Linked DNA regions of Homo sapiens: regions 1 and 2 are each linked to region 3. The links are contacts of gene promoters, found by promoter capture Hi-C in human tissues and cell types (Jung and others, 2019). All regions are on one chromosome and are shown on one strand. The core of a region is centred on a gene start or on the middle of the fragment in contact, and the rest is flanking DNA. Distances in the headings are between cores, read along the strand shown.

Region 1 (3,607 bases), core at 1,097-3,596, 140 kb before region 3:
TTACAGGCATGAGCTGTCACACCTGGCCAATTTTTTAATTTTTAAATTAAATTTAATTAATTAATTTTTTTGAGACAGGGTCTCACTTTGTCATCCAGGCTGGGGTACAGAGGTATGATCACAGCTCACTGCAGCCTCAACCTACCGGGCTCAAGTGATCCTCTGGCCTCAGCGCCCCCAAGTAGCTGGGACTACAGGCATGAGCCACCATGCTAAGCTAATTTTTGTATTTTTTTATAGAGATAGAGTCTCTCTATATTGCCCAGGCTGGTCTTGAACTCCTGGGCTCAAGCAATCCTCTTGCCTTGGCCTCCCAAAGTGCTGGGATTAAGGTCATGAGCCATCGTGCCCAGCCTTAAATAATTTATCTTTCTCCCTCCTCCCTCAGCCTAAGGTAATTATCAAATGAAATAATTCATCAGAAAGAGTTCTGTGACATGTAAAGCCCTGTAATAATGTGTTGGTAATACTATGGTGATAATGGATATTTTTCACAATGGGTATGCATGTGACATGCTGAGTTATGGAGGTATGGACTCAAGGGACAAGGAGTGAAATTGCCACATGTCTCAGGTTGGGGTGGGGGCTTGGGGTGGTAGCTGTGATCAGGGTGCTTGGGGTGGTGGTTGTGGTCAGGGCGAAGGTTGAGGGGAGGGATCTAGACAGCCTGGCCATATTGTTTTTGGAAAGAGCGCTATACAATGTTAATTTCTTCACTGATGAGTCAATGGATGAATGAAAGGATGTCTTCTTTAAACTGCTGCACGTTGGTGGGTAAGTGAATCTGTCCAAGGTAGATGGGAGACTGAAGAGTCAGGGAGGTCAATCTGGTGGGCAGGGGGGCCCATAAGTCAGGCAAGCCTAAGTCTGCTCCTTGAGCAGGTTGCTCAGCCTCTGTGTGGCTCATATCAGCTATCTCAGAGGGTTAAATAAAAAGACATACACAAAGAGGTCGGGCACGGTGGCTCATGCCTGTAATCCCAGCACTTTGGGAGGCCGAGGTGGGCGGATCACCTGAGGTCAGGAGTTCGAGACCAGCCTGGCCAACATGGTGAAACCCCATCTCTACTAAAAATATAAAAAATTAGCCGGGCGAGGTGGCACACGCCTGTAGTCCCAGCTACTCAGGAGGCTGAGGCAGGAGAATTGCTTGAACCCAGGAGGCGGAGGTTGCAGTGAGCCGAGATGGAGCCACTGCACTCCAGCCTGGGCGATGAGAGCAAAACTCTGTCAAAAAAAAAAAAAAAAAAGAAGAAGAAGACATACGCAAAGTGCCTGGCACAATTCTTTGCACAGAGTAGCTACTCAACAAGTGGCTATTACTGTTACCACTGAGGCAGAGTTTACACATCATCTCATCTCAAGCTGCCACAAGCAGACACGATTATCTTCTTGTGAAGAAATCTCAACTTCCCATTTATTTTCCTTTTTTCCCTCCTTTATTGAAACTTGGACTTTTAAGAATTTTGGTGCATGGATAATTTGAGGTCCATTTGACACAAGGAGAAAGTTCTGACAGTCGCTTTGAGTCTTGTTCTGTATGAAGCCACAGTGGTAGCAATGTGCTCCCCTGATAAAAAGCAAGAAACATGGTGCATTCCATTAAAGGAAAGAGGCATTAACTTTCCTCCCAGCCTGGTTACTCGGGACATTAATCAGCCCATAAAAATGGGATTAAGTCAAGTCTCAATTTAGCTCTGCAGTTTACCTTTAAAATGTAGCCGCGCTTTGTGTTTTAATATCGGGTGATCACATTTTAGATGTAATGAAAGAGCAAGGATATTTTCCCACAAATTTTCATGGGGATTCGTGACTGCAGATGGGACCCTCCCTGAAGACATAATGAACAATTATGCAATCTGGGGAATGGCTTTGGAGAAGCAGTTCCAGCTGGGGGTATATAAAGTGAGTTTGCTAAAAGCTGTGTAAATGAGGGGCTCCAAACCTGCCGTCATGTATTTCACCCTTTATGACCTAATGAATATGTTATATTATCATGAGCCTATCAGCTTGAAACTTTGCTTTTGCTCTGAGTCCCCCGAGGCAAACAGATGGATTTTTAAATCCTTCCTCTTAAAGTCTTACTGGATGGCAAAGCCTTTGCTTAAATGTGGAGCCTGAAATTATCCCGAGTTCTAAAGCATCCTTATTGGCTTTGAAGGAGCTGCTTTGACTCTATCCTAAAGGTTTGCTTTTTTTTTTCCCTTTTAAATTTTTCCTTCTCTAGGATATGATGCTAGAAGGGACCTCAGGGATGATTCCAGGCCAGAATGTTGACGGCTCCCAACCAAAGAGAAAAATTCAGATTATAGTGAGTTTTCTTAAGAAACTACATTTATTCATTTAAATGACTGATCTTTACTTTGAAGTTTTGTTTTTCTCCCTTGTTGGTATAAAATATCTTATTTTATTATCATTAATTAATTAATTAATTAATTTTTTTGAGACGGAGTCTTGTCTTATGACCCAGGCTGAAGTGCAGTGGCACCATCTCGGCTCACTGCAACCTCCGCCTCCTGGGTTCAAGCAGTTCTCCTGCCTCAACCTTCCGGGTAGCTGGGATTACAGGTGCCTACCACCATGCCTGGCTAATTTTTGTGTTTTTAGTAGAGATGGGGTTCACCAAGTTGGCCAAGCTGGTCTCGAACTCCTAACCTCAAGTGATCTGCCTGCCTCGGCCTTCCAAAGTGCTTATAGGTGTGAGCCACTGCCCCCAACCCATGTTTTTTTTATTGGACAATATGTCTAAAAGTATTTTTTAAAAGAAAGATAAAGCTAAAACGTTTTTGAAAAGAGCTTTGTTTTAAGCATTTTTGGTACAAAATCCAAGAGCCTGGGAAGCAGTGGTTTAGTGTAATCTCTTCATTTTACAGATGAAGAAGCTGAGGGCGAGGCCACTGTGCTTCCCCAAGGTTGCTGTATGAGTTGGGGTGGAAATGGGCCAGCTCCAGCCTTCTGCCTCCCAGCCTGGCTTCTTGTCCTCCACCAGCTGTCACTCGGAAAGTGAACAGAGAAGCCCTTGCCACTATAGTGGACAAGGGAAACTGTGGATACAGATTCCAGCAGTGAGAAAGGTCATTAGAGTTCTCCAAGGGCACAGCTTTGCAGCATGTCATGTCAAAAGCAGGGTGAGCCTCACATGCAGGCGAGGCTGCAGCTCTGAATTATACTCAAAGGTTCTGGAAATGTGCAGGCTTGCAAATGTTTCCTCTACTAGCCTGCAGTACCCATGATTACAACATTGCCACTCCTCTCCTTTGATTGGGCCTTTCTCTCTCTAATTTTCTTTTTTTTTCTCTCTTCCAAGGACATGTTTTCCCAGGACATGCACTCATAAATCTGTATCAGTCACTAACAATCTCGGGATGAACAAGTTCACTATTGTCGACTTTGGAAACTAGCTAGGAGCTGGAATTCTGATGGGGAAATAAACATCATTTTAGATCCAGGAAGTTCAGAATGAAAATGAAAAAGCAGATCTAGATGGAATGCTTCTAGAAGGCAAAGGAAGGTGCAGTGGACAGAGGTGGTGTCCAGGCCCTGGCACTGGTAAGAGATGCCTAGAGGCCAGGAGTTCACTGGATGGTGGGTGGATGGACAAAGTGAA
Region 2 (3,807 bases), core at 71-2,570, 130 kb after region 3:
AGCATCAATATCCATATCTAGTGCCTGCCCTGAGCCATTCCTGACTCTGCAATAAAGAGGAAGCCTTCTGACCAGTGAGACTAAGATCCACCATTGAAGAATGAGGAGGATATTTACAGGACTTCCTTAAGCCAATAAGCGTGATCTTGCTATATTCCAAGAGCATGCAGCTCATTTGAGAATGCTTCTCATGTAAATGTCCGTTGAGAGAAATGCAAACACAGCCCATTCACTGATTTGCCCTTTGTGTTGTCTTTTCTAACTCCTTTTCCCTTATGCGTGGGTGGAGTGCTAACAGCTGTACCAGGGAACAACTAATCCCATGGGCAACCCGCCGCCAGGGTCCATCATTCACAGAAGACAATCTACTGTTTCTCATTGTGCTCCATGATTCACCCACTGCAAGAGAAAACTAACACACAGAGTGATTGTTCCATCTCCCGTGGAGAGGGTCCTTATTATGACAGAGAAGTTATTTTCTTTTCTGTGGTTTCTTAAGGGTTCTCTAATTGGGTAACCCCCTGCTGACCCCCGGCTATGGCAGTTTCTATATTGATATCTTTGTTCCACTGCTTGCACACTGAAGCCAGGAACGAGTAATTCAAACCAACAGAGAGCATAAGATAATGGGGCTTTTATAAACTACTAGTGTTTAAAAGGCAATGACCCTTTAAGTTCACTGGAGTTCTCTTCCATTAAGAATTTTTCTCACCTGTACACAACAGATGGGGGATGCATTACAGCCCTGTGTCTGCTCCGGACGGGAGCTGAGCTCATCTGCTAGACTTCATGGACTTGAACCTGGACTGCTTTGGAGTTCATTCATGTTCTACCCACACTTGGATAACAGCTCAGAATAAGCACAGAAGCTTTCCATTTTTTTGTTTTGAATAAATATGGGAAAGTATAAAGGGTAATGGGAAATAAAATAAAAATATGGGAAAGTATAAAGGATAATGTAACAAAAACCCATATTCCTAGAAATGGTAACACCTAGAAATATTAACTTTTCAAATTTTGTCCTATTTGCTTGTGGTATTTTAATTTGAGAAAGTATAAAGGATGATGTAACAAAAACCTATATTCCTAGAAATGTTAACACCTAGAAATATTAACTTTTCAAATTTTGTCATATGTGCTTGAAGTATTTTTTTAAGGCAATAAAGCATTAGAGTTAAAACTAAAATCCTCTTTAGCCTCCAACCCTAGTGTTCCCAGTCCGCACCCCAAGGGCCACTATCATCATAGGATGGTGTATAGCTATGCGGTCCGTTCATTTCTTTTATTTCTTTCTACTGATATGAAATTTATTTATTGCATTTCTAGTCTATTAGTGTTAATAAAGTTTTAATGTGTATACTTATATATTTTTTCAAAACTTAAAATTCACCAATGTCTATATTCTCTGTAACATGGCAATATAGTTACATTCTGTGCTATTTTCAAACACTCTCCTTATCTGAACACCATGTTAACACCTACGTCTCAGTTCAAGCTTATTTTAATCACAACATTTTTTCTCTTTCTTTTCTTCTTTTCTTTTTTGTCTTCCTCTTTCTGTTACTGCTTTAGGATTTATTAATTATGATAGGATTGCAAGGACATTTGGGGTTATCTTGGAATACTTCCCGACTCACAACTCTGTTGGAAGAAATACTAGAATCCTGTTTCTGCCGCATTTGTGTCTTGATCCTTGAAACTTATGCCCTCTGTTCCTCAAGGACCTAAAACAGAAACACCACTCGACCCAGCAATCCCATTACTGGGTATATACCAAAAGGAGTAGAAATTGTTCTATCATAAAGACACATGCACACATATGTTCATTGCAGCACTATTTACAACAGCAAAGACATGGAATCGACCTAAATGCCCATCAGTGGTAGACTGGATAAAGAAAATGTTGTACATATACAACATGGAATACTACGCAGCCAGGAAAAATGACAAGATTATGCCCTTTGCAGGAACATGGGTGGAGCTGGAGGCATTATCCTTAGCAAACTAACAGAGGAATAGAAAACTAAATACTGCATGTTCTCACTTACAAATGCAAGCAAAATGATGAGAACACATGGACACAAAGAGGGAAACAACACACACTGGGGTTTTTTCAGAGGGTGAAGTGTAGGAGGGAGAGGATGGGGAAAAATAATAACTAATGAGTACAAGGCTTAATACCTGGGTGATGAAATAATCTGTACGACAAACCCCCGTGACACAAGCTTACCTATATAACAGACCTGCACATGTACGCCTGAACTTAAAATAAAAGTTAAATAAAAAAATGTTTAAAAAGAAACATTTCTTTATTGTGGATTCAGTCTTCTTGTGGAGGTATATTCTTTAGCTGTCCTTCCAGCAAACATCTGAGAGAGTATATTTCCTAGGTCCTGATGTCTCTGAAAATGTTTCCATTTTGCTCTCATTCTTAAAAGATGGTCCGGGAACAGAACTCCAAGTTAATAGCTATTTTGCCTCAACTGTTTTTAAGATAGTACTTAGCTTTCTTCTGGCATTTTTTTGGTTTGGTTTTGTTTTATTGTTCATGAAAAGTCTATTAGTGATATTTCTTTTGTGGGCAATCTAATTTTTTCTCTGATCACTTACAGTATTTTCAGTTTTAAATTCTGCAAATTTTGCAGTTTAACATGGTATGTACGGAGATTTTAACTTCATTAATCCTGGTGGATATTTTCATTCTGATTTATAGCTTTCATTTTTCCTAGAAATTTCCCAAAAAATTTGAATGTTTTCTCTCCTTATTCTTTCTATACTCTCCTACTGAAAGTCTGTTCATCAAATTCTCCTGTTTTCCATGTGTTTTAACTAATTTTAAAAACAATTTTCATGTTTTTATCTCTCTATGCTATGTTCTGGGTATTTCCTCTGTTCCACATTTTAATTCACTCATTTCTACTTTAGCTGTGTTTAGTTCATGAGTTAATGCATTTGTATTCTTCCTCCATAGCGGTGGTTATTTCTTGCTTTTGAATACAATGTACAACTTTTTTTCTTCTTTGGGACAATTTAATAATTTTCTAAAATGTCTACGTATTTGGCATAGAAAGCATTTATATACAGTAGAAGCAGACAGAGAAATTTTAGTGCGTGCTGAACTCACAATCTTGATTGCTTTTTTTTTGAGATGAAATCTCATTCTGTTGCCCAGGCTGGAGTATAGTGGCGCTATCTTAGCTCACTGCAACCTCTGCCTCCCAGATGCAAGCGATTCTCCTGCCTCAGCCTCTCGAGTAGCTGGGATCACAGGTGTGTACCACCATGGCCGGCTAATTTTAGTATTTTTAGTAGAGACAGGGTTTCACCATGTTGGCCAGGCTAGTCTCAAACTCCTGAACTCAAGTGATCTGCCCGCCTGGGCCTCCCAAAGTGCTGGGATTACAGGCATGAGCCACTGTGCCCGGCCACAACCTTGATTACTTTTTGACTTAGAGTAAATGCTATCCTGTCCTGAATTATCTCACCTGTTGTTGCCGTGATAACCATATTAACCAATTTTCGTATTCTGACAAGGGAATGTTTCATAAATTGTCAATTTATTTAATTAAAAAGTCTTACAAAAGGCCAATCACGTTTAACAATTTTTTGAAAATAATACAATTACATGAACCATAATAATCCCACCAAAGTCCAGAGTGGAAAAGTCAGTAGAAATAAACATTTCTGAATCTATTTTTATGACTCAAGCACTGACAAGGCCTGAAAGGTCCTTTCTTGCTCCATAGATCTCTAGATATGGGAAGTAGAGATGAAATGAATGTGTATTAAGTGGACATATTTTATATG
Region 3 (3,812 bases), core at 67-2,566:
ACTGATGTTGTTGAAAAAGGTGGTGAACAATGTTGGGCAGGGGTATTACAGGACCAACATGTTTGTATGCCTGTTGTGCAGAAACAGACCAATACACCAAGACAGCAGGCTTTGCAGCAGAGAGAGGGTTTGATGACAGCAGGGAGGCCGAGTGAGCAGATGGGAGAAGACCCTCAAATCCATCTCCCCGAAGAGTTCTAGGCTGAGGTTTTCAAGGGGATTATGGGGGGTGAGGGGCTGAAAAACTATAGTCATTGATTGGTTGGGGAAAGGGGGATGAAATCATCAGGATGTAGAAACTGCATTCTTCAGTGAGTCAGCTTCTCGTGGGGTCCTTCAGACCAGCTGGCGTCAGTAGTTTCATCAGTATGCATGACCTACAAGAATATCTCAAATGGAAAGCAACATTTCACAATGTTCAGTTGTTATCTGTGGAGCAGTGAAGGGGGACTCTAATCTTGTGACAGGGTCTGTGTGATTCTGGAGCAATAGGTAGCAAAACACTATGAGGAAGGATCAGAGAACAGCTGACCCCATGACTAACACTGAGTATGTGCAAGCTTGGCTTATTTTTGTTTCTCTCCCTCCCTTCTCTTCTGATTAATTGTATAAAGTTTCTAGGGACAGTTTCAGGGGTGATAGATGATGATGGTACGAGATTTGCAGTAGAAGGGAAGGAGAAGGTTCTGGAAGGGGAAAAGAGGACCAGCAGGGTCCCTCCATCACCTCCAGGTCTGCAGGAGGTGGCAGGAGGGCCTGGAATGAAAAACAGCCAGTGGCTGGGCGCAGTGGCTCACGCCTGTAATCCCAGCACTTTGGGGGGCTGAGACGGGCAGATCACGAGGTCAAGAGATTGAGACCATCCTGGTCAACATGGTGAAACCCCGTCTCCACTAAAAATACAAAAATTAGCTGGGTGTGGTGGTGTGTGCCTGTAATCCCAGCTACTTGGGAGGCTGAGGTAGGAGAACCACTTGAACCCGGGAGGTGGAGGTTGCAGTGAGCTGAGACCGCACCACTGCACTCCAGCCTGGCTACAGAGGGAGACTCCATCTCAAAAAAAGAAAAAGAAAAACAGCCAGCGCATGAGAGAAGATGTGAGCATCGTCCTCAGGGAAGAGTCAGTTTTTGTCAGAACAAGGAGGGACTATTTGGAAGTTAGTTTGGGATGTGAGGCGTTTTGCTATTAGTGGATCAGGCTGATGGCACCGTGGAGGGGTTTCAGGAGTCAAGAACAGGTGGGAGAAAGTTTCCCAGTGCAGGTTGTGCAAGCCTCCTGGCCCGGAGAGTGTGGGTGTGACGAGTGGCTTGAGAGACAGGGATGAAGAGCATGAATGCGAATGTACAGCACTGAGCTCGCGTCTGCCACATGGTAAGCTCTTAGAAGACCTCAGCTTCTTATTCATTTTGTCACAAATCGATTAATTACTGAGCTGAAGGACATATTAGAAAACGGTCAATAGCAATACTTCTAACTTCCAATCTGTACTTACGCTTGGCATTCAATCGATGTTATCAAAACCTGTGCCAGCTCCAAGGAAGAGAGAACACTGTTTTCTGATTTAGTTGCTTCCTGAAAGGAGCTGAGAGCTGTAAAACACAGGCAAGATTGGACTTTTCAATAATGCTTATATATTGACTTGCAGAAACAATATTAGAACTTTTTTAAAATGCACACATTATCTCCTTAGGGTAAGGGAAAAGGTTTTACCTTTTTATTTTTGCATCTCCCCTTTGAGTGAACATCATTCTTTTTTCTTTAACTCACAACTTTACAAGGTATTTGGAGAAATATAAGGGAGAGATAGTTTCTGTTTCTCACCTCTTTAAGCAATGTCCTCTTGTATACCAAATAATATCTTCCTGTGGTTAATGATATGAGAAACAGAATGCCTCTCCAGAAACCTTTTCACATCCCAGATTCAGAGTTCCTGAGGCCAGAATCTGATCTGACATATTTTACTACTTAGGTAAATCCTTAATCTCAAGAGTGATGAGAGTGAAGTCTTTTTATGTTTGTTTTTTAGAGATGGGCCTCTTTCTGTCGCCCAGGCTGGAGTGCAATGGTGTGATCATAGCTCACTGCAGCCTCAACCTCCTGAGCTCAAATAGTCCTCCTGCCTCAGCTTCCTGAGTTGCGACTACAGCCATGAACCACTGCATCCAGTTCAGGTTTTTTGTTTGTTTGTTGTTTTCCTTAAAAAACACTAGTGATTCTATTTTGATTCTGACAACTTTCATAAGGTCCAGGGACAAAATAAATGTGTTATCTCTTGGGAGGAGATGGATTTATAAGCCCATGGGCACCATTCAGAGGCCATATGCCCTGGAAGCACTGAGGAATGTGCTCAAAGCAAACCCTTGGGTCATCCTTGACTCTTCTTTTGCTCTCACATCCACATCCAATCTATGAGGAAATTAACTTAGCTCAGGTAGTTTAAAAATCCATCTGAATGTTGCGGCCAGGCATGGTGGCTCATGCCTGGAGTCCCAACTACTCAGGAGGTTGAGGCGGGAGGATTGCTTGAGCGCAGGAGCTCGAGGCTGCAGTGAGCTATGATCATGCCACTGCACTCCAGCCTGGGCAACAGAGCAAGGCTCAGGCTGGTCTTGAACTCCTGGCCTTTAGTGATCCTCTTGCCTTGTCCTCCCAAAGTGTTGGGATTACAGGCACGGGCCACTGAGCCCTGCCTAAAACGTTCAATGTCAGTGACTTGGAAGAATGTTCTGGTGGACGGGAAAGCCCCGGATGGAGAGAGGATTCAGGCATTTGAGAGGTCAGAGAGAAGCAAGGTATCCAAGGACAATGGAATTGGCTGCTTGTTGCTCAATTGAATTGAGGCTCTACATTAGGATAATGAAAAGCTGTAGGCAGTTAGGGAGCAATTGAAAGCCACTTGTGAAGGCCTGAGGGCCTCCAGGAATGGGGCCCATATTCACTCCATTCAGTGTAGAAAAAGCAGAAGACCAAACTATGGATTTAATAGGCTTGCCTAGCTTCAAAGATGATTATCATTACACAAAGATCAGAGCACTGGTTGGGAAAACATGGAGCTCTTGTGCACGGGATGGGGACATTTGGGTGGATGCCTCCAAATATTTTGAGCTCTCAAACTCTTCTAAGCCCTCAGAGCCTGCAGAGGTGGCTCATCCTTCCCTGTTATGATCTGAAACTACCCATATGGGCCAACACCACAGAGTTCTGTCCCCACGGGCCAAGGAGGGCTTCTCAGGATCCTCAACTTCTTGCCTGGTTGCCAGACCAATCACTAGAGGTAAGTCGCAACATCACCAAGCCAAGAATATTATGGCAACACTGATGAGCTAGAAAGAGACTGTACCTCCCTCAAACTGTGAAAAATTCACCCCCATGTACTAGAAGGAAGGAACTGGATTTTGAAGGCGCTTGATCAAGGAGGCAGGATAAAGGAGAATACAGGAATGTGAGGGCATTTTCTCAGGATATGGGACTTAATGCTTGGCAAAGACCCTAGAGGATGGTGCAGACTTGCTGCTTGGGTGGTTCAACAAGCCTGGAGATAGGTCCATGCTGAGCGGAGCTGAAACAGATTTTTAAAGGCTCAGGGAAGTGAACATGCTGGTATATTATGGCGATCAGAAGACCCATCAGAGGATTATTATGCCCAGGGAGGTCTGGAGAACACAGCATTCACCAAGCCATTGGGAAATTAGCTGAAGGCTTTCCTCTGCAGACCACAACTGGTGGTGTGAAAGGCTGTTGTGGAGTTGAATCCACAGAGAGTAGTGATGATGGGGTGAAACAGATGGGAATCTTGTGAGGATACTTCTCA

What was found. The method cuts DNA at HindIII sites, captures the fragments that hold promoters and counts their contacts. A contact is called where the count stands out against the background at its distance.
Region 1: a contact is called between a fragment that was not itself captured here and the fragment with the promoter of C10orf126 in region 3, in 1 of the 25 tissues and cell types used here (aorta).
Region 2: a contact is called between a fragment that was not itself captured here and the fragment with the promoter of C10orf126 in region 3, in 2 of the 25 tissues and cell types used here (aorta and mesenchymal stem cells).

What each region holds. Positions count from the first base shown.
Region 1 is chr10:28,707,428-28,711,034 of GRCh38, forward strand. It overlaps LOC105376470 (a long non-coding RNA gene), which reads left to right and starts at 602. Exons shown (of 4, transcript XR_001747282.1): 1 at 602-774; 2 at 2,228-2,311; 3 at 2,874-3,128; 4 at 3,308-3,539. The HindIII fragment of the contact is 4,669 bases long and covers 13-3,607 here.
Region 2 is chr10:28,975,766-28,979,572 of GRCh38, forward strand. No RefSeq gene overlaps it. Among named protein-coding and RNA genes, the nearest start is that of C10orf126, 130 kb to the left of the region's middle. The HindIII fragment of the contact is 3,888 bases long and covers 1-3,264 here.
Region 3 is chr10:28,845,092-28,848,903 of GRCh38, forward strand. C10orf126 (chromosome 10 open reading frame 126) reads left to right here and starts at 1,317. Exons shown (of 5, transcript NR_164114.1): 1 at 1,317-1,372; 2 at 2,028-2,172; 3 at 3,125-3,275. The HindIII fragment of the contact is 9,674 bases long and covers 1-3,812 here.